Regions from separate parts of the Homo sapiens genome. Here region 1 is linked to region 2. The links are contacts of gene promoters, found by promoter capture Hi-C in blood cells and fetal thymus (Javierre and others, 2016). All regions are on one chromosome and are shown on one strand. Each heading gives the region's core, a stretch centred on a gene start or on the middle of the fragment in contact. The rest is flanking DNA. Distances are from core to core; before and after follow the strand shown.

Evidence for each region. The method cuts DNA at HindIII sites, captures the fragments that hold promoters and counts their contacts. A CHiCAGO score of 5 or more calls a contact.
Region 1: a fragment that was not itself captured here is called in contact with the fragment with the promoter of RPS6KL1 in region 2 in 1 of 17 cell types (endothelial precursors); the score reaches 5.5 in endothelial precursors.

What each region holds. Positions count from the first base shown.
Region 1 is chr14:75,046,979-75,049,678 of GRCh38, forward strand. It overlaps MLH3 (mutL homolog 3), which reads right to left. Exons shown (of 13, transcript NM_001040108.2): 2 at 1-2,700. The coding sequence starts at 2,677. Among named protein-coding and RNA genes, the nearest start is that of MLH3, 3.1 kb to the right of the region's middle. The HindIII fragment of the contact is 1,843 bases long and covers 439-2,281 here.
Region 2 is chr14:74,921,978-74,924,677 of GRCh38, forward strand. It overlaps RPS6KL1 (ribosomal protein S6 kinase like 1), which reads right to left and starts at 1,283. Exons shown (of 12, transcript NM_031464.5): 1 at 1,203-1,283; 2 at 1-508. RefSeq lists enhancers at 36-807, 808-1,578 and silencers at 949-1,358, 1,449-1,508. The HindIII fragment of the contact is 5,428 bases long and covers 235-2,700 here.

The DNA.
Region 1 (2,700 bases), core at 110-2,609, 130 kb after region 2:
TCATCCCCATTGTTTGAGTTTCTCTTTCGGAACCCTTCAGTCTGGATAATTTAGAGGCTAGTGATTCAGATGACTTCTCAAGGTCCAAAGGTTTTCTATTAAAGAGAGATAACTCCTTCAGGGTCATAGGACTTTCTCTCAAACTAGGCATCTGTTGTTCTAAACAATCTTCATCCTTGGAGAATGGAAACTTCTCTGAGTTAAGGATGTGGCTTGCTGGTTGACAACTACTATCTGAATCACTATGCTCCATAGTAGTGATTTTACAAACATCAGAGTTCTCTAAGCGGTTCTTGTCCTTCAGCAGAATGTCAGGTTCAACTTGAAGACTGAGATTGGTAGTGACTCCATTACTTTCCTCTACTTCTGTATCCAGAGGATTTTCAACCTTCCCATATTGCCTCTTAAACTTCTCTAAAGATCCTAGCTGTGAACTCAAGCTTAGCTTCTTACGGACGATTGGTTTGGAGAAACCAATTAATTTATCTGTTTTCCTACTATCATTGGAAACGTGTCTATACCAGGGGAAAGAGGGGGATGTATCAGATAATATGCAATCTGTTTGTGATTTTTTGCTACCTTCCTGAAAAGCAGAAAACATTGTATAAGTTGCTGTAGGTTCATTCTCTAGCCCATAACTTATATTCGTTCTGCAATTTTTTTTGTTGGGCAATTGACCAGATTCTTTACTTAAAGTGCTGGCTAAATCTTTGATGTCTGGAGTTTCAACTGAATGACGTGTTCTATTTCCAAATGTTTCTTGGGCACGTGTGGGACCAGGTCTAACATAATTTTTAAATGAATGTTCTGTTTCAGTTGATTTAGTTTTTTCATTTTGTACTACATGAGTTATAAAGCCAGTGGAACATAATTTAACTCGCCCATAACTAAAAACATTTCTTCTTCCACAATTGCTAGATTCTTTTTTTTTCTCTTTCTCTGTCTGAGCACTATGTACTCCCCATAATGTTGTTGCAAAAGGCAGAGGCTGGCATCCCACTTCAGTAGCATCTTTAAATCTCTTTGGTTGATTCTGAATTCTATTATTTTTCAAGATGTTGGCAGCCATGCCATTAACAGTAGTACTTTCTTTCCATATTTCTAGATCCTGCCCACTCTCCTCAAAGTGACATGGTGTCTGAAAAGGGCTTAAAAACATTTCTAAACTGGTTCCACACGGATTTTCTAAAGAGCTATGTTCCAGGAAAGATTTTTTATGTTTCTCATTTTCTCCAGCTTCTGATGCTACAATTGTCTCTTGTTCTAACATCTTTGATTCTGAGCAAGAGCTGTCTTTGTTTTGTAAAGATGGCTCTGTCATTTTGCTATGGCCTGGACCACCTGATTCATAAATGTACAAAAATGCATCATTTGTATTTTTTCTGGTAGCTTCTGAATCCCTAGAACTCTGTGTGTTTACGTTTTCTGCAGTAGTTTTTCTTTTCACAGCTTTTGACTGCAAATTAAACATCTCATAGGAATCTAAAATATTATTACATGCTTCCTGGAAATTGCTCCTCTCATCGGAAGTCACACGCTTCTGAAGAGTAGCATCAAATAAACTAAAACCATTATCTTCACTAAATTCCTTAATATCCTCACCTGATAATTCCACAAATAATTTTTCTTGCTTTAAAAACATTTTCACTCCTTCCTGAATGCAAAACAAGAGAGTGTCCCAGTTCTGAAATTCAATCAGAGTTTTGGCTGGCTCCATGCACACATCATACTCACAGAATTGGCACTGCACATTAATTACATATATGCCATAGAGTTCTGGGGTAGACCGGTGCCGAAGACTTGAATTCATTTGCCTACTGGTGGGACCATTCTTTGGCTTGCATATAATACTTTCTTTCCTTAATAAAAAGTCAATGAGTTTATGTAGCTTTGTCCTTAAAACTAGTCTTTTGTTCACAAACAAAAACTGCATATTCTTGTTGTAATGTGCTTCAGAGCTGATATAGCCACTAAGCTCAAACTCTTTATATTTAAAACTTATTTCTCTTAGCTTTTGGGACTTTCCCAATCCATAAATTTGACAAAATCGGGAACATACGTCTTTGGTTTTAGGGAGCTGAAGAACCATGGAACCAGAAACATCATTTCTCAAAGAGAAAGAAATGGAAGGGTGCATGAGTGAGAGAGCTTCTATTCTCTGCCTAACCTTCTCAAACTCCAGTCTAGGGTCCATGCATTTCCTCCTTACAGGAAGCTGGTAAAATAGGTTATACACTGTTACAGTAGTCCCAGCGCTTGCTCTAGTCACATCAGCTTCACAAGCTTTCAGGGCTTTTCCACTCTGAAACAGTTTCACAAAAGTTTTCATTGTCCTGTTTTTCTTGGACGAAATTTCCACAGCACTGGCCATGTCAGCAATATTTGCCAAGGCCTCTCCTCGGAAACCATAAAACCTTGGATTCTCCAAGTCCTGTACCGAGTGGCATTTACTGGTGAAATAACGATTTCCCACTTTCTCTACATCATCACTCCCCATCCCAAATCCATTGTCTATCACTTGAACTTGGAAGGTTTCCATATTCACCCTGACAGCCACACATTTTGCTTCAGCATCAATACTGTTGAGGGCAAGTTCCTCAACACATTGGCCCAAGGAGCTTATGGCCAAACCAGAACGCAATTTGGCTTGTACTTCAACTGACAAGCACTTGATCATGGTAGGTAGAAAGATGGTGAGAA
Region 2 (2,700 bases), core at 33-2,532:
CATGTTGGCCAGGCTGGTCTTGAACTCCTGACCTCAAGTGATCCGTCTGCCTCGGCCTCCCACAGTGCTGGGATTATAGACGTGAGCCACCGCGCAGGCCTGGGGCTCTGTTTTCCTTTCCAGTCAAATTCAGTTCAGCAAACATTTCTGGAGCATCTGGTACTGTGTTGAGCTCTGGAGAGAGCTGAGGATATCTGTGATCCACAGCCACCTTCACAGGGCCTCCGTAGAGCAAGCTTGGTATCCAGTACGCATTCAGCACATGGAGGCCACACACGCTGGGCTCAAATGCTGTTCCTCATGCTGTTCCCTCCACCCTGCCTGTTGTCTCCTCCCTGCTCCTCCTGTGGGAATCTCATTTACCCTTTGGGGTTTAGCACTTCTCCGTGGACCGGATGGATTGCCCCTGCTGTGTTTTGTTCCCTTGGTCCTGAGGTCAGTGTGGTCAGCGAGTGAGGACCCCTCCTGGAGCCAGCAGAGAGCAGAGCACAGAGCTGGGCTGTAAGAACTGTTGGCAGACGGAATGACTGAGTGGCAGACTCGGTGCCACGTTGGATGGGGGGTAGAAGAGGGCAGGGTGACCCAGCCCCAGGGAGGGTCGCTCTGTCCTCCTGGCTTTACTTTTGAGAAGGTCATGTGGCCTCCAAGGACCTGACAGCAGCTTCTTCCTGAGCAATGTGTGACCCAGGCGGCCAAAGGGATGACAGCCGTGGCTGCGGGAAGGGAAGGGGCTCAGAGAGAGGCCCACAAAGCTACCCCGCCTTTGCTCTCCCAGGTCCCACTGGGAATGGGCAGGACCCGGAACTTCCAACCCCAGGTCATTTGGAGAGAAAGAGGAGAGAGCAGGATGGGCGGTGGGGCGGGGAGGGAGACCCACAGCCTCAGCCGGCGGGGAGCTGAATCCCGGCCAGGATGCGGCCAGGAGGCAGAGGGAGGCCGCACCATCCCTGCTCGGCCAAGCCCAGGGGAACTTGAGGCTCTGAGGCCTTGCTCTGGGGGGTGCCCGGGTAGGACTGGCTTCAGGGTCCACCCCGCCGGGCAGGGTCCTGCCGGGCAGAGCCGCCGGCCCCGCCTGGACACAGAAAGCGGCGCGTGCAACCCACGGGGCCCCAGCCGCAAGGTGCACGGTCCCAGGGTGGAGGGACGGCCGAGGGGGCCCCTCGCCTGGGAGGGTGGAGAAGGGACCGGACAAAACACCGTACCTGCCCGAGCTGGGAGCCGGGTCCGCGGGCCAGGCCTCCCCCTCACGTACCGGCCCTTCACGCCAGAGCGCGCCGCGGGCCGCTGCTTTCCGGCATCCAGCGTGCGGGGCCAGCCGGTGCAGCGCGGCCATTGGCTGCGGATGAGCTCATACTTGAGCCTTAGAATAAACCACCAATCACCGCCCGGCTCGGCTCCTGCCGGCCTTAAAGCCGCAAGGTCTGCACGGCTGGGCTGTGAGGGGCGGGGGGCGGTTTAGAGAGGGGAGGGTGGGATGGGATGTGGGGTGGGTGGGGAGAGCAGGTCTAGAATCATCCAGGGATGCGGAAGGGGCTGCTTCAGAAATCTAGACGTGCCACTTCTAGGACTTTTCTCATTCATTGCTTCATTCATTTATTCAACGATTCAATGCTATGTATTGAGAGTCTCCCATGCATGAGGAGCTGGATGTTGAGATACAGCCGTGAACTAGACAGCGCTGTTTACATCCGCATGGGGCTTACAGTCTAGTGAGGGCTACCGAGAGTAAAGAACCCAGCAATAGAAGGCTTTTGATATCAGAACCGAGCTTAAAATTCAAGACATAGGCCGGGTGCGGTGGCTCATGCCTGTAATCTCTGCATTATGGAAGGCTGAGGCGGGAGGATCATTTGAACCTAGGAGTTCAAGACCAGCCTGGGCAACATAGGTAGACCCAATCTCTATAAAAATTACAAAATTTAGCTGGGCATGGTGGCGTGTGCCTGTGGTCCCAGTTACTCAGGAGGCTGAGGTGGGAGGATGGAGTGAGCTCGGGAGGTTGAGGCTGCAGCGAGCCGAGATCGTGTCACTGCACTCCAGCCTGGGTGATGGGGCAACAGATCACAGGCAACCCTGTGACACAGATCTCACCTGCAGGTTCAGTGCTGACTGGCTTCACACTGTCCCCCGGCTGCACTTGCTCTACCTTAGACACCCTTTCATACTTTCTCCCTCTGACTCCCACCCGTCCCCCTATCCTCACTCTCAGCCAGCACTGTTGCTTCATCCTTCCCTTGACAGCAGTGGCGCACAGACTCCCACAGGCTTGCTCTTGGCCCGCGGGCGGGGCTGTGCCCACACTCTGCTTCCAACCTTTTTCCACAGGTGACTGTCTGTGCCCCATCGAAGGCCACCCTTCCAGGTGGGCATCAGTCCCGTGCCATCACCTACTCAGCGACACCACTCCAGCGATTCTCCCGTCTCTCCCACTAGATAATTCCCACCTGATACAAACATAATGCTTGTTTCTCCCCTCTTAAAAGCAAAACAAGAAAACAAACCAAAATACACTCTAGGCCTCACTTCTTTACCTACCACCCTAGGTTTGCAGTACGGCTAATTTCCTTTTTTTTTTTTTTTTTTTTTTTTTTTTTAGTAGAGATGGGGTTTCACCATATTGCCCAGGCTGGTCTCAAACTCTGGAGCTCAGGTGATCCACCCACCTTAGCCTCCCAAAGTGTTGAGATTACAAACGTGAGC